Regions from separate parts of the Homo sapiens genome. Here all the other regions are linked to region 5. The links are contacts of gene promoters, found by promoter capture Hi-C in human tissues and cell types (Jung and others, 2019). All regions are on one chromosome and are shown on one strand. Each heading gives the region's core, a stretch centred on a gene start or on the middle of the fragment in contact. The rest is flanking DNA. Distances are from core to core; before and after follow the strand shown.

The links. The method cuts DNA at HindIII sites, captures the fragments that hold promoters and counts their contacts. A contact is called where the count stands out against the background at its distance.
Region 1: a contact is called between a fragment that was not itself captured here and the fragment with the promoter of ADAMTS5 in region 5, in 8 of the 25 tissues and cell types used here (H1 embryonic stem cells, IMR-90 fibroblasts, aorta and 5 more).
Region 2: a contact is called between a fragment that was not itself captured here and the fragment with the promoter of ADAMTS5 in region 5, in 2 of the 25 tissues and cell types used here (heart left ventricle and mesendoderm cells).
Region 3: a contact is called between a fragment that was not itself captured here and the fragment with the promoter of ADAMTS5 in region 5, in 4 of the 25 tissues and cell types used here (IMR-90 fibroblasts, mesenchymal stem cells, mesendoderm cells and 1 more).
Region 4: a fragment that was not itself captured here is called in contact with the fragment with the promoter of ADAMTS5 in region 5 in 1 of the 25 tissues and cell types used here (H1 embryonic stem cells).

Annotation. Positions count from the first base shown.
Region 1 is chr21:27,109,420-27,114,018 of GRCh38, forward strand. No RefSeq gene overlaps it. Among named protein-coding and RNA genes, the nearest start is that of ADAMTS5, 140 kb to the left of the region's middle. The HindIII fragment of the contact is 3,693 bases long and covers 231-3,923 here.
Region 2 is chr21:27,131,093-27,135,770 of GRCh38, forward strand. No RefSeq gene overlaps it. Among named protein-coding and RNA genes, the nearest start is that of ADAMTS5, 170 kb to the left of the region's middle. The HindIII fragment of the contact is 5,679 bases long and covers 1-4,678 here.
Region 3 is chr21:27,187,851-27,192,425 of GRCh38, forward strand. The region is part of intron 2 of LOC102724355 (a long non-coding RNA gene); the gene reads right to left. Among named protein-coding and RNA genes, the nearest start is that of ADAMTS5, 220 kb to the left of the region's middle. The HindIII fragment of the contact is 7,167 bases long and covers 1-4,575 here.
Region 4 is chr21:26,833,628-26,837,839 of GRCh38, forward strand. ADAMTS1 (ADAM metallopeptidase with thrombospondin type 1 motif 1) reads right to left here. Exons shown (of 9, transcript NM_006988.5): 9 at 2,128-4,212. The coding sequence ends at 3,952. Among named protein-coding and RNA genes, the nearest start is that of ADAMTS1, 9.7 kb to the right of the region's middle. The HindIII fragment of the contact is 8,671 bases long and covers 1-4,212 here.
Region 5 is chr21:26,964,276-26,968,533 of GRCh38, forward strand. It overlaps ADAMTS5 (ADAM metallopeptidase with thrombospondin type 1 motif 5), which reads right to left and starts at 2,813. Exons shown (of 8, transcript NM_007038.5): 1 at 1,013-2,813. The coding sequence starts at 2,116. LOC124905050 reads right to left here. Exons shown (of 3, transcript XM_047441063.1): 2 at 3,169-3,695; 3 at 2,381-2,809. The coding sequence ends at 2,381. The HindIII fragment of the contact is 10,779 bases long and covers 1-4,258 here.

The DNA.
Region 1 (4,599 bases), core at 827-3,326, 140 kb after region 5:
TTTTTAATGTTCCTTCTCTCCAAAGGTCTCTGCCGGCTGTTCCATCGCTATCCCAGGCCCTTCTTTTAGAAAGTCTTACTGAGATTTTTTTCTTCCTTAACAATGTTGCCTCTGGATATAGAATGTCTCCCAAGTTTTTCTTTCCATGATTCCCTTTCACCTACATCTCTTCACTTTCAACTTCCCCTCCAAAGAACCACTCAAATATAACTTTCTGATATTTTATTCACCATTCATTCACTCAGCACTTACCAATATATATTCAATGTCTACTCTGGGTTAGACACTACTGTAGGCATTGAGGATGTAGGAATATACGAGACGGTAGATCCCTGACTCAAATAAGTTTATATTCTTTATAAATAAGTAGCCAAATAAAAATAAAAGAGATTCACTAATTGTGATGGTTGCCTTGAAGGAGGTAACCATGGAGATGATGGGGAGTTACTAGATTTGGTGGTGGGTGATGGAGGCAGTGTATTAGACAGGAAGGTCAGAGAAGGTCTCTCTCAGATATTATTCTGCTTAGATTTAAAAATCTGATAAAAACCAGTTGCATTTAAAGTCAGGGGTGAACAAGGCTCAACCTGTTGCAAGAAATGTGTCCAGAGAATGGTCTACATGTGATCAAATTATATGAGATAGGATGAAAAAGTGGGGAGGATCCTACTTATAAAAATGTCTTAAAGCCATTGTAAGATGTTTGGATTTTGCCCTAAGAACGGTGATACGCTATTGCAAAATCAGTGGTTTGACAGTTCTAAAATAATGTTTTGACCTAACAGTGTAAAGTCAGGTGTATTTCTTTGTTGACAATGCATTGTCTTGATCAAATTAGTGGTCCTACCATGAATGAAATTTCAGGCAACATGCAAAGCTATGTCTCACACTGAAGTTATAGTGAGTCTGTTAAAAATGTTTCTTTAAATCTCATTAAGTAGGCACGTGGTTATTTTGCCTAAATGAGGGGTGGTCCCTTGATAGTTTTTCCTCCCAAACACTATATTTTGAGAAACATTTAAGAAATCTGGAACATGCATTGACTTTTCGTCAGCGATATCTGTGACCTTGACATAGCCTGAAAATTTTATATTAGCTTCCAAAAATTTTAATTAATTCATTTAGAAAATTCGATTACTAAATACCATTCTCAGCATAATGCTGTATAGGTTAGTATCAATCACATCACAGAAATGGTTGAGAATAGGGAAGTTCCTATCCTGAAGTAGTCTATACATAAATATTACTAAGAGCAAGTCTTATTAGAAGTAAGTGTTAAGCTATATTTTATGTTTCATGTTCATTATTGTTTTTGGAGTCTTTCTTTAAGCTCCAAGCAACATTATCATATATCTCATAGTATAAAATTGTTGTTTTAGTTGACCTTTCTGCAACCATTTCCCTAGTTCTTGCCCATTAATTTTGGTATAGATAAATATGATATATAGCTGGTGTAGATAAACAGGATACACAGGAGGTAGATGAAAGACCACTGGACCCAGGGCTGACTTCACAGATGTGCATCCAGGTCCTGTGTTCAGAAAGACCTCACTCTGCTGTCACCATCTTGAAAAGCTTATTTATTTTTCCCTTGAACCCATGTTTCTTCAGAGAGATTTGATCGGACAATGGATTGGACACTTCACATTTTATTTTCCACTGACCTCCAAAAATTATGTCCTTTTAGAGCAATCATGTCATGCACAGGTTATTAAAGCCATCATTTCCTCTGTTTCTTTGTAATCACCAGACCATGCAACCACTGTAAATATCAGCTGGGCATCAACAGCTTTGAAAGTTTTGAGGAATGAAATAAGCTTCCACGGTGCATTCCAGGATGGTAAACTACAAATAAAATATATATATATTTTTTGTAAATTGTAATAAAACTTTCTTAAAACTGTAAATCTTTTACAAAACTGTTTTTGCTAAATTCTTATGCTGTTAGAACCAGCCTTTCAAACTAAGGGTCGGTAGGTCAAATTCAGCCCACAATTATGATTTGTTTGACCAACATAGAAGTTTACAAAATATGAATGTGAGTGCTTTTAAATGGGGCCTGACATTCCAGAGAGCCACTGGCCTAACCATTTAATTGTTTTTTACAAGATAATTTGTTTACCCTTCCTGGTCTTTCAGAGCATTTGAATTTGCAATTCTGAGCTCTAAAGTTTAATGTCTAAAACAGTGGTTCCTAAATTTTAGCATACGTGTAAGTCACCTGGCTAGCTTGTTAAAACACATATTCCAAACTTCCTCCCTGGTATATCTGATACAGAAGGGCTGGGGTAGAACTGGAAATTTCTAGCAAATTCCCAGGTGATGCTGGTATTGCTGGTCCAGGAACCACACTTTGAAAACCACTGATCTAAAACAGTAACTGCCATTCTTGCTATTTGCTATTAACTGCAATAAGCTTCATCTACTCAGTTATAAATGAGATTATCTAAATAAAACATACATTTTAATTAGTCAAGCTAGCTAAATAAAAAGTTTAGCTATGACAGCATACATTAACTGAAACAATTAGTGAGTCAGCCAAATTTTTCTCCCTTGAATAAAAAAGATCCTGCTATTCACTAGTATTATTGCAATCCTATTTCAGTGTTCTCCACTTTTTTATGCACATGCTTTGCTTTTTCCAAAATTAGTAATACAGCCTTAAAATAACCCAGTTAAAAAAGTTGTAAAGTTGTCTCACCCTCAGTAAATATCAAAAGCAACGAGGTAATGGAACAAGATTGTTAAGGCTGTTGATGATTGATTCACATTGGACAGGCTCTTATCCTACTGTCAAAAAGTGGTAAGTGCCCTAAGCCCAAGATGCCAATGTTTTCCTAGACATTTAAGAACTCAGGAATAATCATCAGATATATGCAACTCTAAGCTGAAATAGAATACAGAGTTCAACCTGGAGTCATTTCCCTCCTCAATCACCTTTTTGAGACTTACAGTCTCAAGTCAGTCAAAGAGGATTTCTCAGTAGTCATCATCAGTCATCAAACACTCACCTTTTAGAGGATATGTGATACTGCAAACTGGTGACTAAACTGGTTTTTCTCAATATAATGTGTCCTAAACTCCCTCTTTAGGTCTGCTTTCCATTTATTTAATAACTTTTCTTGGGTAATGGAATAGGAAATGACTTTAAGAGAAATTAACATCTTAATTTTCCCTTTTTTCATTTTTTTCTTTCTGCTTCTTTGTGTGAGGAGAAAAGGGTAATTATTAGCATGCTTTAATTTAAAGCACCAGTGGAATTTTCTCTAAATCTTGCCTTTAATGGGTTCATTAATTTTACTTATTTCTCTAACTATCATCAGGCTTAACTATAATTCATTTAGTTTTTATATTCAGATCATCCATTTTCTGTAATAAAGGGAGATTGTGAGAATGTGAATAAATTAATTCCACAGTCCTATAATTATGTGCATAGCTTTTTAAACCACTAGGCTTCAAATCACTTGAGGATCTGTCTCATTTATCTTTGTCTCACACAATAGTGAACATAAAGTTGGTATTGTAGTAGACATTCAATAAATGTAGATCAAATTGAAATGACCCCCCCAACACACACATAACTTTTTGCTTTCATTTCTTCTTTATTAAAGAAGGGTAATAATAATCTACATCTCGCGGGTTTCTCCAAGTGATTGTGTAAAACAATGTACTTAAAGCTCCATGCTAGGTAATAAATGAACATTCAATCTGGGTTTGCGTTTAATTATTAGTAGGCATTTTTACTACTTTCATGATTATTATTTGTATTAATGGTTCCAAACTCCCCTATGCTAAATGCTCTAATGAAGTTTATTTTCCTGAGCAAGTTAATTGAACTGGGCTACCTTGTATTTTTGTTTCTTCTGTTCAATGTTTTGTTAATTCTTTCATATTCCTGTAGTTCAATTAGTTTGATGTTGAATCTGACATCAATAAAACATTAATCTGTGGTAGATCCTGAAGACTTGGGAATATAAAATTATAAACTGTATATTTATTATATATATATATATAAACTACAATAGATCAAAAGTATACTTGAAAAACAGGACATTCCCTCTCTTTAACAGCTAATTCTAATCCCTATTGCATGTTTTACTAATACATGTCACCTCATTAAATTTCCTTTTCTCCGAAGATTTAGTCACAAAATCATGTCAGGACAAGAATTAGAAGACCTGGGCTATTCCCTACTCTCTTTCTTTGGGTCAAATAAATCATTCAGCCTTTTCAGGATATTGGTCTCCTCAACTGTAAACCGAGTAATCTCTATCTTAGAAATAATGCTGGCCTTATGGACTTGTGAACTTTCTTTACAAGGTTGCCCAAAAGGCTGCCCAGGTTGAGCACTGCACAACTCAGTGGTGCAATTCACATAGATGCACTCGGCAGGGATGACTGCTTCTTCTCCCTCTTTTCATCCATGGAGGAGTAGGTTAAGTAACCAGATATACCACTTTTTCCTTGCATTAAGAAGTATGGCCTATTACAGAAATTATTTACGCACATTACCAAAAACAATCAAGAGAACAGAGGATATTAACCACACTTAGAGGATTTACTTTCTGTTTTTACCACTTAATCCTTAAATGGAATGGC
Region 2 (4,678 bases), core at 1,013-3,512, 170 kb after region 5:
GTTAGGGAAGAGACGTAAGAAGTAAAGTAGCTTGGATGGTTCTTCCTTACAGTATAGACATTGAAAAACATTTTCAAAGCTTAAGTAAGAAAACAACTCAATAAAATTGAGAAAAGAGAGATGAAAATATCATGGAGGGATGACTGTTCACTTTTGGCTTAACTATAGTAAGACTCTACACCTAAACTTTTCATAAGCATAAACAAAATTTGGCCAAAAAATCTAGAATTCATTAAGTTATTGATAGCTACCTGATACTAGTTCATAAAGTAAGGGATTAATTTCTAATTTATAGGCTTTAACTGTGTTTTGCCATATGTACTTACAGCCAACTGGTGGTTCCTAGAATGATTTCAGATGGTATATTAATAAACATTTCAAAAAATGTATTTAAGTATTAAATATGTATTTTAAAAATATAACTGTCACAAAAAATGATCTGTTAGGTAGTTGCCCAAAGTTTGTTTGTTTTTTTCCCTTGGCTGTATGTATATAAGTTAAAAAAAAGAGAGTAAGTTAAAAATGAAATATTAATATATAATAAAATGTGATATAAAGATTCGGTCAAATATACGAAAGTGATGTAAAATTAACATCTTCAAAACCCCAACATAGAATGCCAATAAGGCTAGACCTTTCAGGGACTGAAGTGTTCCCATTCACCATTAGGCTACTTCCCTCATAGTTAAGGTATTTGGGAAATCAAACTGAACATGAAAAAGTTGATTAGCAAGCAGAAACTCAACAGCAAGGCATCTGGCTAGTTTTGATAACTATATCAGCAAGGTCATATAAAAATCTGGGATCCACTTGAGAACAATGTAGTCGAGTTCTATGATGTTGGAGATACTATATAAATACATTTTACGATATTCAGTAGCTCCCTGTATTATCAGGAGATGGTCTTTATAGGCTTAATTTTTAGGAAGGTCCAGAGAGCCGGCTCCTGAAAAATTAACATGACACCCTTGAAGAAAACAATGTTTATGTTGACTTCTGAGGAAGACAAGCGTCCTGGGAAAACAGGCACTCAGCCTGTGGGAGGTGTCAGCAGAAAATGTATCCCCAACAGGAAATACCAGGCTTTAATCAATGGAAAGGTGCTTTTATTGAGTACAAAATAAGGTCATATTCCATTTCTGCTCTCATTTCTCAGCCCGCTCTTTCCTAGTATGTAAAATAACTTACAGAGTTGCTTGGAACATTAAACAAAATAATGTCATATGGCAAGCACTCAATAATAACATTATGATTACTTGTCCTGAGAAGCTGGTCATATGTTGTGTGTATGTTTGAGAATGGTGATTGCGAAATTGAAGAAACCATTTTACTTGGAGGGACCTGTGGGGAATGTGGGCAGCCTTAAGCATAGATCTGAAATCACTCAAGGGAAAACATTCCTTCTACTTTGGCACTCTGGCAGCAACAGCTGCTGTGGTAAGCACTGAGGTCCTGGAAGCAACAAGGCTGAAGTGGCCGTGAGGAGTAGACAGGAGTGGGATGAAGAACACCTTGAGCTTCCAGGGAGTTTCTGGGGAGAGAAAGAATGAATGATTTTAAGTCCCAAAGTAGGGCCTTGAGAGCAGCATAACATGGTGCTGAGCTGATAGACTCTGAAGTTCAGCAGGATCAGTACTAATTGTGTGGCCTTGGACAAGTTATTTAACCTTTTGAAATCTGTTATCTTGTCTGTAATGTAACGAGGATGGTGATGGGAATGACTGTCTCAGAACACTGCTGTGAGGATTAAATAAGAAATCTGGGTGAAGTGCCCAGCTCAGTAAAAACACTCAGTAAATACTGGCTCAGAAGGAAAAAATAAAACAAAATGTAAAACAAACAAAAATAAAGCATTGTTATCTCCAAGGCTGTAGTGTAGAGAAACAAAAGAATGCATTTTTATAACTGAATGCATTTGTCCCAAGTCTTGACATTCTGCACACAGTGGATCCATAGTCACATATAAAATGCATGTGTCTTTCTTTTTTCCTACTGAAGCCATAGGCCCCTTTAGATTTTGGCACTTACTGTGAAAGCCAAACAGCAGGAATTTCTTGGCCACATTTAAGGTGATTGATCTTTTATTTTCAGAATATCTTTTGTCAGAATGTCGGTGAGTTGCATCTCTGCACGTAACCTTGAAATAAAGATGAGCAGCTTTTCTTCTCCACACTTAAAGTGTCCTTTATTTCCAGGGAACTAGCGACATGCTAATATCTCTGAAAATATCTTCCTTAAACTATTTGATAAGATGCTTCACAGAAATAGAAAACAAGGGGACTGAGTACCAGTTGCTCTAGAGAGTCACAGCCTTGAAGTTATGAGCCCCTAGGGAAAGGCCACTGGGAAAGTGCTGAGCAGACTAAGGAAATACTTCAATCAGAGCAGAATACCAAGATAGTTGCCTATGGGTTAGATTTAAAAGATTAGTGGAATATACCTCACTGTTCACAGGAAGGAAGGCTATCACTGAGGGTCTTCCTATACTGGAATCCTCATGGAACAAAGAAATAACATTGAAATGTTGACATCCAGGCTTGTATACAATAATTTTAAGATTTTCTGCCTCTATTTCTAGATTCTTGAGTATTTAGTTATGGTATTCCCAATGCAAAAATTAATCCTCAGGCTATGAAGGACAAATCTGGCTTCAAAAGTACTAAGGCATCAAGAAAAAAAGAGAATTAAGTCAACTAAAAGAAGGCTAATGCCTGAATGTATCAATCGAATTGGTTTTATTATGATTGCTTTGGTCCATGTAACATGAAATATTTACACAAATTGGAAAAGCTTGCATAGGTCCTTTTATTTGCATTTGTCAGCTCTATTGTCCTTCTGAACTCACTATGCAAAGAGAAAATTCCTTTTAAGCATTGAGAGGATGATGAAGGCATGCTTTCTAGTTCTACTCCTTCTCCCATTCATTCATGACATATTAAATGAGAGATAATGCTCAGGCTAAATACATAAAAGGAAATTGGTCAGTCTGCTCCAAAAAAGAAAAAAAAAGTTTGAGATCTAGAGAAAACAGGAGAGAGAGAGAGAGAGAGAGAGAGAGAGAGTGTGAGCTTAAGAAACATCTATCTGAATTCTGAAAAGGGAGAGATTAACAACTAGAAAGGTGTGAGTGACTTCCTGGAGGTCTTGGAAGGCAGTTTGGTGGCTATGGATGAGAGCAGAGTCCAGCTTCAGATGGCTGTTGTTCAAATCAGACTCAACTGTTTGCTAATCATGCAATGTTGGTCAAGTTACTTAGTATTCTGGGTCCTAATATTCTTACTTGTCAAAAAGTGGTAATAATACAACCTACTTCAATGCCCGGATATATTAATAAATTACAAAGTGGAAAGCACTTAAAACACTACGTTACATTTAGTCAACTCTACGTAAGTAGAGTTTCACAGTAAGTGCCAAAATCTGAAGGTACCTAAGTCAATAGGCCTGCCCTGAACTCAGGCAGGTTCCATTAATTTACATGGAAAAGTATGCAAATAAATTAGGTTTTGTGTTCTTGTTGTCCTTGTGTGTTCCCTCATGAACTTGTTTTCTGACACTACAATGCTAAGATTACGGTATTGACTATCATCTCTTCCCCATCTTGTGTACATTTGTAAAGATGCATGTTAGTCTTGGCTGCCAGCCATACCATCTGGTCCTAGTGGTTAAGGGAACAGAGAGGTAACTGAGGAGATAATTTTTTTTAAAGTGTTCATGAATTAGATATGTAAGAACTAGTTCCTTCTGAATCAAATTATGAAAGTTAGTATGTTTGGAATAAAAATAGCTAAGGATGTTTAAATATGGACATTTCTGAAGTAATCCTTTTAACTCTGTCCTTCACCTAAAGTAACAAAATGGAATGCTGAGACTAATTTAATTTTGATAGCCTGAATTTCTATGCTGTTTTAAATATAGTTTAATCACATAGCTTGTTTAGGAGGACATCTGTGGTTTAATGGGAAGTTGATTGGAATTGGAATTAGAATAATGCTTTCCAAACCGTTGTCTGTAGGAAACAGGTCCCGCAAGATGTTTGCAAGTGTTCTATGAAAAGAGATTTCTTCAGCAAAATAAGTAGGAAAATGTTGAATTAGCAGATCTCATTTCAGAACCCAACTTTGCCATTTATAGGTTATGTAACTTTGAAGGAGCCGCAAGTTTTCTGAACTCCACTTGTAATATCTCACAAGTTTGTTTGGCTTTTTTTTTTTTGGTGGAATAAATAAGATCATGTACATGAAAGACCTGAGAAATGTGTCCTTGATATATGTCAATGGACTCAGCTTCAGCATTCCAATGAAATGGGCCTGAAATTGGGCGCTGTTTTTCATGTGGTTATCATTCAAGTTTAGAGAGAAAGTAATGCCTGTAGGATATGGAAAAATTATCAGGTTATTAGAAAGAGTTCCATCTGCTACTTCTGACTTGGATATAAATAGAAAAACTGCTAATCCTAAAAAGGTTTTTTTTTTTAAAATGCTTGTTTTAAGGGCATATTTTCTCTTTAATGCTTTTTTTCTATTAAAAAACCCTTATGTATCTGTTTTACCAACCGGTAAAGCAAACCAAAAAATACAGAAAAACCAAACATCAGAAGAAAAAAATAATCTCACGCTTTATGATGTTAAACCATCAGTCAAGAATACATGCGATTTTAAAAACAGTGAATGTACTTAAA
Region 3 (4,575 bases), core at 836-3,335, 220 kb after region 5:
GAAAATATTATTAACCACTTTACTTCAATAGACTTGACAACTACATAAAAACAATAAATTCTTCAAAAACAAACGTACCATGAAAAACAATGGAAGAAATTATTTAAATGCCTCTATGTATTAATTAAATTGATTCTGTTGTTAAAACTTTTCCCATAAACTCCAGGTCTAGAGAGCTTCACTGGTAAATTCTTCCCAATACTCAGAGGAGGGAATTACACCAATTTTAGAGATTATCTCTGATAACAAATAATGACGACAACAAAGACAATGACATTTCTCAACTCTCTCTTTTTTTTTTTTTTTTGAGATAGAGTCTCTCTCTGTCATCAGGCTGGAGTGCAGTGGCGCAATCTCGGCTCACTGCAATCTCTGCCTCCTGGGTTCAAGTGATACTCCTGCCTCAGCCTCCCAAGTAGCTGGGACTACAGGCGCCCACCACCACACCCAGCTAATTTTTGTATTTTTAGTAGGGACGGGGTTTCACCATGTTGGTCAGGATGGTCTCGATCTCCTGACCTGGTGATCTGCCCCCCTCGGCCCCCCAAAGCACTGGGATTACAGGCGTGAGCCACCATGCCTGGCCACGTTTCTCAACTCTTGATGAGGACAGTATAACCTTGATATCAGCATAAAACAAGAACATTATAATATAGGGAAATTACAGATCAATTTCTCCAATGAACATAGATAAAAATATCTTAAGCACATTGCATCCAGCCACATTCAAAAATGGTAATATGTCAAGCAAGTATGTTTTAACATTTGAAAATTAGTTGTAATAATTCACTATGTTAACATAAAATTCACATGTTAACATAACAAGGGAGAAAATTCAACACACACTTACGATTAAAAAATCTTTACAAACTAGAAATAAAAGGGAAGTGATGAACAGTATCTACAGAAAACTTTGTAGCCAGCATTAACCTTATCATCCCTTATTGAAAACTTTCCACCTGAGATTGGAGAAGAAAGATTGACAATTTCTAATATCACTTTTCATCAACATTATACTAGAGAGAAACTATATAAAGATTGAAAATGAAGTAATAGTTTTAATTGATTGCAGACTATTATTGTGTACCTGGAAAATCTAATTTCAAAACTATATTAGAATTAATGAGTAAATTTAGTAAAGTATCAGAATGTAATAATAATATACAACATTTCCATTTCTATAAACCAACACTGTACAGAAAATGAAAGAGAATATTAAATACATAGATGCAAATTTTAAAATGATGCCAAAGATTTCTACAATCAATGCTATACCATCTTATTTAAATAAACTTAAGAAGACCTAAATATATCTAGAAATAGACCACATCCGTATATTTTATTGTAGATGCAAGACTCTGGAAAGTTGTCAATTATTACAAATCAATCTATAATTTTAATTCAATCCTAATCTAAACTTAATCAGCTGATTCTAAAATGTATATTAAATTGAAAAGATCAAATAATTGCCAAGAAACTCTGGAGAATTGATAACACCAATTATTAAGACCTGTTACAAATCTATAGTAAATAAGATTTGTGATATTGGGGAAAATGTCAGCAAATAGACCAATCACACAGAATACAGAGTTCAAAAACAGAAGAATTATATGCACTTATCTAATGTATGACAATTTTTTTTTTTTTTTTTTTTTTTGAGATGGAGTCTCACTCTGTCGCCCAGGCTGGAGTGCAGTGGTGCCATGTCGGCTCACTGCAAGCTCTGCCCCCCCAGGTTCACGCCATTCTCCTGCCTCAGCCTCCCGAGTAGCTGGGACTACAGGTGCCCGCCACCACGCCCGGCTAATTTTGTTTTGTATTTTTAGTAGAGACGGGGTTTCACCGTGTTAGCCAGGATGGTCTCGATCTCCTGACCTCATGATCTGCCCGCCTCAGCCTCCCAAAGTGCTGGGATTACAGGCGTGAGTCACCGCGCCCGGCCTTGAATATTTTAAAGAAAGATTTTTTTTTTTTAAAGAACATACGACATCTCATATGTGGCTCACAAAGCCTAGAATATTTACTAGTTGGTAAATACAGAAAATGTTTGCTTATCTCTGTCCTACAGTGTAAAGATCATTACTATTAAAATCAGAAAACTTTGGTTAGTATTCTAGACCTGTCACTGACTCGCCTAGCTTGACTATATGTGGCAGTGACTGGGAGGCACACTAAACCAGAACTAAGTGTATCCCCTATTCAACTTCCTCTTGATGGATCTCAAGTATTCCTGCAATCACTTTGACAACATTCTATGCCAGGTGAAGTGTGACGAAGATTAAGTGAGAGTGAAAAGACATGGCCCTCTTAACCAACTACAGTAAAAGTAACTTACTTTTGTGAATCTTTTAAAAACATGTGGTTATGTGAACCCACTTCATGGTCATGTGAACCCGCTGCTGACCCTCTCCCGGGGCGCTGGAAAGGACCTACTCAAATGAGCACCCCTGAAGTGTAAGTTTTATTTGCTTGCTGTTTCATGATCGACACACCCCACATGCATGCACATGCTTACATGTACACACACACAAACTTATTGCACAGGTATAAACAGTCGTTTTTGTGCTTACCTTTTTTTGCTGTAATGAAATGTAGACTAGGAAGTTATTATCTATAATAAGTGAATAAAAGGCTATGGCCTTTAAATTAATTATTTTATTGAGTGATTCTTTACAATCAGTCTGTAATTTGAAGTTTATTTCTAGAGTGGAGAAGTGGAATGAGAAAAGAAAAAAGGAAAATTTCCTAAAGTATCAGCTAGGCCCTGGGTTTCAATACAACACTAGCTGTGGAACTAACTGGCTGTGTGCCCAACAAAACAGAATAGGTGACTTTTAATGGCCTGAAGCTCTCTTGGAAGTGGCCATTAAGAGCAGTCAGTTTGGCAAGTCCCATTTGCCTATGTTCCTAACACTCTTTGGAACCCAGCCCATCGGAACTCTGTAAAGTATGAACATGCTGTGGTTATAAAGAAATATGGCCAAAAGTGAATCAGCTCCACAAAGAGATTATTCTAAAAGCCCAGGAATGTCTTTTTCCCCTAATGAATAAGTCAGTGGAGCAGTTGATGTGAAAGTTAAGGTAAGGTAAGCCATTCAATAAAATATGTAGTTCAAGAGGCATGTATTTCAATGCTACTTCTGTCACTATCAGCTTGGGGAAAGTTGGGCGAGTCACTTAACCTTTCTAAGCTTCAGTTTCTTTATTTTATATTTGTTATCACTAAGATCTTTCTGGCTATAAAATTCCATTTTTCATAATGTGGAATCTCTGTTAACTGTCTTTACTCATAAAGGAAAATCAAATATTGTTATTCTCTACTTACAGTCCCTGTGTGCTGTTGAAAAGTGGAGTTTCAAGGTTAAAATAACAGGTGTCTCGCAGTTTTTTAACCATTGTGGTTAAATATGTAATTGGTAAAATGAAAATTAGTATCTATTTCACAATTCGTTGAAATAAAACGAAGAAAGTCAGTAAGCGTAGCTTAGTCTCTTCTGAAACCTTTTACTTTCTACATTCACATCAGTCCTACAGGACGGGTACTGCCCTTGAGGAGGAAGCTAGCAGTTTGGGGGGTAAATTAAATTATTGGCTATGGTATTAGCAATGCAATTAAGTCACTTCTTGTGATCTGCCTTTTATCAGTATTATATGAGATACTCCTACAACCCCACATGCATGTTGATTCGTGTGCCCTTTCAACTATTTCTCTACTTGATAGGAAAAACATAAAGGTAATTGATCAACCACTTAAAATCAAAATGAATATTCAGTTGTTAATTTTATTTTTTTTCTATTCAAGTCTTCAAAAGACATTAAGAAACATGCTCTATGGTTGGTACCAAATTTTGGAGAAATCTGTTAAAAATTCAAGAGAACAATATGAAACTTTACATTTAGCCTTTTTTCATTAACATAAAATATGCTTGACTACAGTCAGTTCTGTTACAATTGACTTTTTAATGTGAATGTGAACTTACATATTAAATTAGTATAAAAATGTTGTTCTTGTCACAGTTTTATGAGTTGTTGATAATCACACATGAAGCAGAATCAGCTATTGATGTTATTTCAAGTTAAGTTAAAAGTGAGGATAGGTTAGTTCAGTATTATTTTGTGATTTTTTTTTCCTGCATATTCAGGAAAATGACCTTTCCCCTTATGTATAACAAATTGTTTTGGCAAGATTTAAGATATGATTGAAAATCTTAAAATGTGAATGAATTTGGTCTTAGAGAATACCTCTGGGGGGTCTTAGAGAATACCTCTGATTTTCAGTAAGTTAAGTTTATTACTGCTATTTTTTGATAAACTCTCAATATAAACAAACGTCTATATGAAAAGAGAAAGCATCAAAATATGTTTTATATACTTCTAAGTCTTTGCAAATCTGTGTAATATTTTTAGCAAGAACAGTTTCTGTGTAGCATGAAAACATAGCATGATGGCTTCCCTGTGTTATTTCCCATTTTGTCAGGGGAGTCAAGTAACTGCCAAGACCACATTGGTGGGCTTATGAAGGGTGATATCCCATACTCCCCACCCATAGTGAGTCATTCAATGGTGAGGTTCCTG
Region 4 (4,212 bases), core at 1,713-4,212, 130 kb before region 5:
GCCACCTCCTGGCTGGAGGCCAAGTGGCACAGCCCATTACAACATCTGCAGGTACAATAACACAGTGCCCAGGAAGGAGAAAACTTGCACAACCTCAACTATCACCATTGCCTACATCACCCTGGCTAGCCAGTAGATCTTGAGTCTGTCCATGTGCCCAGTACATGACCACCACAGCCGTATTTGAGAAGGCCAACACACTAAGGCTATTTATAACCACGGAAATCTCACAGGGTCTACGTCACTCCCTTCCCACCCACAACTGAGCTGGTACTGATATCCACTGCTGGGGGACCAGACAGATCACATCACTGGATCCCTTGCAAACATTCACCAGCACCAGCATGGAGTATGGAAACCTCACTGGGGATGAGACCCAGAGGAGCAGCAGTATTCACGGTAGTCTGGCCCTCAGGGACCGCTACTCTTAGGGGTGTGGGAGTGCATCACATTAAAGGAGCATCGTATGGGACAAAGGAAACCAGACTGCAGGCCTTGAGTCCCTGATCTTTCCACTGTGGAAAGTTTCTTTCAGCAGAGGCACAGCTCATCATTTATACCTGTAACAGGAGAGAGCACAAAATCTCTCCTTCTTTCAAGCAAGCGGTTAATCAATCTTCTAAAACCAGGATGTGTGTTTTGAGCTAATCTCTGCCAGCAGAGTATCTTAAACTACTCAGCCTACTGATGAAAAAAAAATTTCACCAGCAGAGGGCTGAAAAACAATGTGGCAACACCAGAAAGTTGTCTGACATTGCCTTGATCTGAGAGGATGATAGGAAATTTTTTGGCTGATTTGATCTCTTAGTGTCCTGAAGTTTAGTGTCATTACTTACATCAAATCAATCTAAGCTATTAAAAAGAAAAGAATTCTGGTGAATGAGGCAAGATCTAAAAGTGACTTTTTAATCTTATGAGCTATCATTTTAGATTTATATATCTCATTTTCTCAAATGGCATGTATAGTTAATGAGGGTCAGGGCATTTCTCATGTATATCCTCCATGTCACTTACTGTGGGGATTTGTACTGCACTAATGTAGACAAATAATTTATTGTGAGAGGTTGTTGTTGCAAGTGGCAAGTTAGGCCACTGAATTGAATGATTAAATTCTGCGTTTAAATGAGTTCTGGAGGAGCAAGACTAGTTCCCACAATGTGAGAAGATGACTTTAACTTTCAGTCCTTTAGTCTAGTAGGTAGGAAAAAAAAATAACCAGAAATTAATTTGATTCTCTGCACCTGTACACCTGACTGCTGAGAATGATATGTTCAATTGCTCAGGGGAAGAACACTTTGAATAACTGAGAGTAAGTTAGAAATTATCACCTATACATAAAAACTAGCATGCTATATTGTAATACCTGTGATATGGTTTGGCTGTGTCCCCACCAAATCTCATCTTGAATTGTAGTTCCCATAATTCCTGTGTGTTGTGGGATGCAGTGGGAGGTAAATGCATCATGGGGGCGGGTCTTTTCTGTGCTGTTGTTGTGATAGTGGATAAGTCTCATCAGATCTGATGGCTTTATAAAGAGGAGTTCCCCTGCACAGGCTCTCTCTCTTTGCCAGCCGCATCCACGCAAGACATGACTTGCTCCATCTTGCCTTCCGCCATGACTGTGAGGCCTCCCTAGCCATGTGGAACTGTGAGTCCACTAAACCTCTTTTTTTTCCCAGTCTTGGGTGTGTCTTTATCAAACTGCAACAGAAGAGGGCACAAACTCCTCCTTTCAAGGAAAAGAAGAAAAACGTAGAGTTCAAAATGTCTGTGGTTAACCACATAATCTGAGTCTTCTAGTAAATACTATTTCCTGGGAGAAGTGTAGTTACTTTGGAAGGAATCTGAACTTTTAGTTATTGATATGCCACTTAGTATTTAAAAGACAGTGATTTACAAAAAGACTATGCAGAAAGGCCTGGGCTTTCCAAGTTTTCTCCAAAACCCCTCAGGTATTCCTGATGAGCAAGTGAAGCATTTAGAGGGTTTAACTCACCATGTATGTCTAACGTTACTACATGTAATTTATGAGTCATTGTTTTCTACTCAATAGCTAAATACTTTCACGTATTTTTACTTATGGGATATAATTGAGGAAGAGATACAAATTCAAAAAGCATCCAGAACTGAAAGCTCTTTCCATTTAATTTATGGTATATACCAGGGTTGGCAAACTGAATCTGCAGAACAAATCTGACCCATTATTTGTTTTTGCAAGTAGTTTTTTTAGAACACAGCCATGTCCATTCACTTACTCATTCTTTATGGCTAGTTTTGTGCTACAACAGCACAGTTGAGCAGTTGTGACATAGATGGTATTGACAGGATAGTTATTGACAGGATTGACAAAGTTGCAAATATTTACCATTTGGCTTTTTACAAAAGAAGTTTGCCAACCACTGATGTATATTATTAGATACATTAGTAACAAATGACATCATAAATTTCTTTCTTTTTAGCAATCATGTATACCAAGGATATAAGAAATACATCTCATTAGAAAAAAATCTTCTATTCAGCCGTCTTGCTTCACCTTCCTCTAGAACAAAATCTTATTGCCAAATAATTTAAGAAAATAATTCGGTCTTCAGATTCAATATTTGTGCCTCAGGTTTCCTTCCTAGGAATGAATTCCCACTTCAAAAAACAGACACACACATTCCAAAAGTGTTCTTTTATTTCTAGTAACATATATTGTATAAATACTCTATTTTATATGCACTTCCACAAAAGCGATATAATTTAAAAGTTTTTTTCATTAGAAATAAATGTATAAAAATAAATATGTTATTATAGGCATTTATTACTAACTATAGTCCTTCTTGGAAGGAACACCCAAACCAATACTTATAAAGTACATGTAATTTATAGTAACATATTTTACTATATACATATGGAAAAAATCATATTCTCACAGAAGAGCTGAACAGACATTCACCAGGATACGACTGTTGGACCAGCTGCTGGAGATGGACCTGCTACCCCTCAGCAGCCTCCCCACCACAAGACAAGTGATCTCAATGTCCCCAAACCTGTGGGACCCTGTTCTACACACCTCATTTTTGTTCCGGCGTTTCATCCTCCTTGTGTGATTGTACTGATTTTCATGAGACACAAGTTACTTCTTTACATCCATATTCCCAAAGCAGGGTTACATGGTAGGAAAGAAAGGAAGTTGGAGGTACTAAGCTCATTGTGTCTCCTCTAGCTTTTACCAGCATCTAATGCTTCACTGCTTTTTTTCCATTGTAGACTTTAATGCACTTGAATAAATACATGGAGTTGTTTTTTCCTCAAAATGAATTACACAAATAAAGACTGAGATGGTCCAAAAAAGGAAAGAGGAAGCCATTTGCGTTATTTCACGTTGCTGAGCCTTTCTCTCATGTTGAACAATCTGAAGTTTTAATTCTCGGTAGAAATAATGTATAAACATTCTCTGAAACCATAGCAGCCATAAACAGTGCTGGTCAAAGATCCTATTTGTACTCCTTTCTCCCCCCATTGTTAGTGAGGTAAAGTAAAACAGGTCTTAGTAAAATCTCACTTTTCTCCTACTTTTCATTTCCCAACCCCCATGATACTAAGTATTTGATAAGTACCAGGAAACAGGGGTTGTAATAGTTCTAACTTTTTTTGACAATTGCTTTGTTTTTTCTAAACTTGTAATAGATGTAACAAAAGAAATAATAATAATAATGCCCGGGGCTTTATTATGCTATATCACTGCTCAGAGGTTAATAATCCTCACTAACTATCCTATCAAATTTGCAACTGGCAGTTTACTCTGATGATTCAACTCCTTTTCTATCTACCCCCATAATCCCACCTTACTGATACACCTCACTGGTTACTGGCAAGATACGCTGGATCCCTCCAGCCTTCTTGCTTTCCCTGCACCAGCCCTTCCTCACTTTGCCTTGCCCTCAAAGCTAACACCACTTAAACCACTTAACTGCATTCTGCCATTGTGCAAAAGTCTATGAAATGTTTAGGTTTCTTTAAAGGATCACAGCTCTCATGAGATAACACCCCTCCATCATGGGACAGACACTTCAAGCTTCTTTTTTTGTAACCCTTCCCACAGGTCTTAGAACATGATGACCACTCCCCCAGCTGCCACTGGGGGCAGGGATGGTCTGCACAAGGTCTGGTGCTGGCTGGCTTCACTTCCTTTGCACACTCGGAAGCAGGCTGTCCATTAATGTCTCG
Region 5 (4,258 bases), core at 1,563-4,062:
CCAGGCCCCAAACCAACCCAGACTTTTTGTGTAAATGTCACACTAACGTAGTGGTCAAATACTGTGTAAATAGATACTGCGTTCCTCCCTGAGCCTCTGAGCCTTAAAGATCCATTTCTTTGCTTCCCCATAACCATCTTTCTTAAAAGGGGGAAATGCTGGGAAAACATTTCTTCCTTCTGTCTTGACTCTTCGCCCAGATCTTCTGCACTGGGGCTTCGGAAACATATTCATCCAAAACCCAAACACGCAAACGGGATGTGACCCTCCCTAGGCGGCGGAGTTGGCCTGGGCAGTGCTTGCGACGCACTGGTCGACTAAGCAAAGGAGTTGTTAAGGAACCTCACAAGTTTGTCCTCTCATCTGATTGGGTCTCTGTACCCTGCTGGCCCGCCCACATTCCTTCCTTCCCAGGAACTGAGATTCCAAGGTGGACATGTAAGAACTCCATTAGGAATCCAACCTGGAAAAAGAGTCCTTGAGAAAGTTTTCTCATCCTCTGTGTAACAGAAGGGATTCTAGTAAAAAGGTGTGGACACTTACAAAAGAAGGTCATCGGATAACAGTGAGTACCGTGAGTGAACCATCCAGCCCTTTCCATTAGGTGGGACAAGGTTATATTTTATTTTCACTGGAAAGAAGAAGACCCATGATCCCAAAGGCAACTTTGTTTTCCTTCCTTTTCCCCATTTAACTGTATCATTTCCCCAAGCATCCTTGTGCCTTCTTATGTTTACGTTCCTATGCCACAACACCTCAGACTAGATGACATGCAGCACTACTGGGTCTTCATCATCACCTAAGCAAGTCTTGGCATTTAAGGCAAAAATTTCTGCGGGGCTAACGTGAATACAGGAGCAGAGTTGAAGGCTGGTTGGATTTCCTGCAAGAAGCAGTTAAACACATCCACAGCTGCAGGAGGTTTGAGGGAGAAGCAAAGCCACCAGCAAGATTCCCTTCTACCTACCTCCTGATATCAGCGCTGGGACCCCCGCATCCCGGCTGGACCTACCTCCCGAGTAAACAGGATAGCTGCATCGTAGTGCTCCTCATGGTCATCTCCCAGCTGGTTGTGTTGGTGCTGCCACTTGCAAAAGTTCTTGAGTGTGGTGGCAGCGTTCTTGCTCACTTCCAGGCTCTTGTCCTTGTCGCCTAGCACCACCACCTTCACCACGGCCAGGCGGATGTGGTTCTCGATGCTAGCATGGCTGTACAGCCTATTGGCGATGGAGGCCAGGGTCAGCAGGTAATGCTGCAGGCCCCGGCCATACAACCGCGCCATGGACGCGTCAGCCACCAGAAGCAGCTCCACCTGGCGGGCCCGGGAGATGGAGCGGCGCCGCCGCCGCCACCACGTCTGCGGTCCTGAGCCCCCAGCGGGCGAGAGAGCGGACTGGTCCAAGAGCTGCGAGGCCAGTGCTGCGCGTCCGCTCGGGTTGCTGTGCGCCGGAGCATGCTCGTGGGCCTCCGGTGTGGACGCGGGGGTTTCGCAGCTGGCGCGCGGCGGCAGGGCCTCGAAGCTGAAGCCCTCGCGGGTGTAGACGTGCAGGATCCGTGCGGACCCATCCCCGTACACGCGCCCCTTTTCTTCCTCCGCCCAGGGTCCGCGCAGCAGTGGCTTTAGGGTGTAGCGCGCGTGCTTGACCGCGAAGAAGCCGTCGAGACCCCCACAGAGGTCAAAGACAGCCAGAGAGCGGGGACTACCGTCCACTGTGCCCCGATAGAAGCAGTGGCTCCGGTGGCGCCAGGGCGCACTCGTCCCGCCTCCTGCGGGCACGAAGCCAGCAATGCCCACCGAACCATCTCGCTCCAGGTCCAAGAGGAACCTCCGGCCGCCCGCGTAGACGAGGTAGCCCACCTTGCCGCCGCCGGAGTAGAGTTGGTCGATGTTCTGCACCAGCCCCTTGCTCCTGCGCCGCTGCGCCAGGGGGTGCGGGTGGCCGGGAGGCTCGGCTCGCTCCTGCACCTCCTCCCCCTGCCGCCGGCGGGGCTGGGCGGCTGCTGCAGCAGTCGGAGGCTGCCCGGCTTTATCCTGGGCAGGTGTCGCGGCGGGGCCGACCGCGGCCAGGGGCAGGCGGAACGCGCACAGCAGCAGGGACGCCCACCCGAGCAGCATAGTGCGCTGCCCGCGGGGAGGGGCTGCGCGACTGGGACTTTATGGGTATTTGTTATTTGCTATGAAGTTAACGGGGCGGGGGATGGGGACACACACACACTTGCTTGCAGGATTGAGTCAAGTGTCGGAGGGAGGGGGGCCCGGCAGCAGCGCCAGCCTGTCCGGGCTGCGGTGCCAGCGTGCGAACTTTTCTTTGTTGCTTGGGAAAATGTTTGGATTCGTGCTCCAGAAAGAGGTGGGGTGGGGGGGGGGGGAAAGAAAAGATTAAAAAAAAAAAGTCGGATAGTGGAGATTCAGCAAATACGGGAAAAGGAAAAAAACAAAAACCAAAAAACCACCAAATGCAGGCACGATCGCTGTTTCAAGAAAAGTAAGGAAAGGTACCGCGCACCGGGCTGGCAACTGGTGCGCGCAGCCTCCCGCCCCCGCGCTGCGCTGGACAAGCCGGCTGTGGAGGTTCCAAGCTCCGGGGCCCACTTCCTTTCTTATTTTGTGGGTTTCCTTGGCTCTGCTGGGACCAGGAGGAAGGGAAGAAAGAGAGGGGAAAAAGCCGTAAAAATTAAAACAAAAATGCAGGGGGGCAGCCTGAGGCGAGCTGGTGAAGCGGCGTGTCTGTGTCCCTTCGGCTGCGGTCTCCTCCTGCCCGCCGTCATCCCCAGTCGGCAGCTGCGAGCGCCGAGAGCAGCGCGAGCGCTGTGAAGATGCGAGGAGGTGGAACAATGAATTTATAGCGGCATGCCATCCTGCAATGGCAATTTCAACAGTTCGTCACTGCACGCTGCCTCTTAAAGGGAGAGCTTCCCCCACCACTCCCACCCTTCCCAGTCCGCGCCTAATCAGATGGGGGAGGGCAAAAGAGGAGGGTGATCGAGGAAAGGGAGACGAAGTAGGAGGAAGGGACTGGGACCCGGCGAGGTGGTAGGAGGGGAGAGGGGAAAATAAAAAGTAATGGGGCAAGAAAAACAGATTTCCTTGGCCACTTTTAAAGCCACAGCGGCTCCGGGTCTGTCTGATATTTCACAACCAATTGGGGTTGGCTAACCTTGGCTTACCTCATCTCCTGAACGGGTGTTTTGGTTAAAGTTATTGAGACGTTTCAAGTCTCTCCCTGCCTCCTTCTTGCCTGCTTTTCTCGCCCTCGGTGGGAAGTTCCTGCCGCAAGTTTTTCCCCTTTGCACACCCGTGCGCTCTGGCCTCGCAGACCGTGCAACTCCATCCACCAGCCAGAGCTTTTCAGCTTCCCGTGCGTCCCCTAACCACCGCGTTCCCTTCGCTTCCTCCCCTCCGTCCCGGCACCCGGTTTCCTCCCTCCCCATTCTCCAGCCTCTTGATGCTTTGACGCTCGCCGGATTCGGGCTCCGGGTGACTAACTTCTCCCGGCCACCAGCAGAGCGGCTGGACAGCCAGAGAGCCCAGGGCGCTTCCTGGCGCGCTGCGGTACCCCGGGGCGAGAACGCCCGCCGCTTGGGAACTCCGCAGCTTTGTGTGCGAACGGCGGGCTCCCAGCTTTCTCCAGCACGCCTTTCGTCAGGGTCCACAATCTGTCCCTTACTCCCAGCCCACTGGAACTTCCTTTGCTCTAAAAAGGCAGAGCGAGAAAGAGTTAACTCTTAGAGGGAATTCCGCTCATTTTTTTTCCCTGAAAGATTTTAAAATTTTGCGCTCATACTTTTATTTTTTGCTTAAATGATACTTTAATAATAAATTCCTATATCTGTTTTTGTCTCTTCTAAAGCAACCACTTATCGCCATAGGCCTTGACCTACCTTCATTCTCAGAAATTCCTTTTAGAAGAAAAAGAATACTTTTGGCGGAAGGAAGATTGGTGCTTATTAGTACGCGGGTGACATTATCACTGCTACTCGTTTCCTCTGACCTCTTTGTTTCCTCTAATTATCATTCTAAGAAGGGAGAAGGAAAACCCGACGACTTATGGTTAGAAGGTCTACCTTCTACTGTAGGGGTAAGAGCTCCCTCCATGCCCAAATTATTCTTCAGGCTAATTAACTAATGCACCAGTGAAAAATGAATGTGGTGTAATTTGTACATTTCCATCTTTTTCTACGTTTAACTTTGGCTACGCTGGGGATAGCAGGGCGGGTGCCTTAATGGGGCCCCAAGCTGATCGCTTTCTCTGGGAGG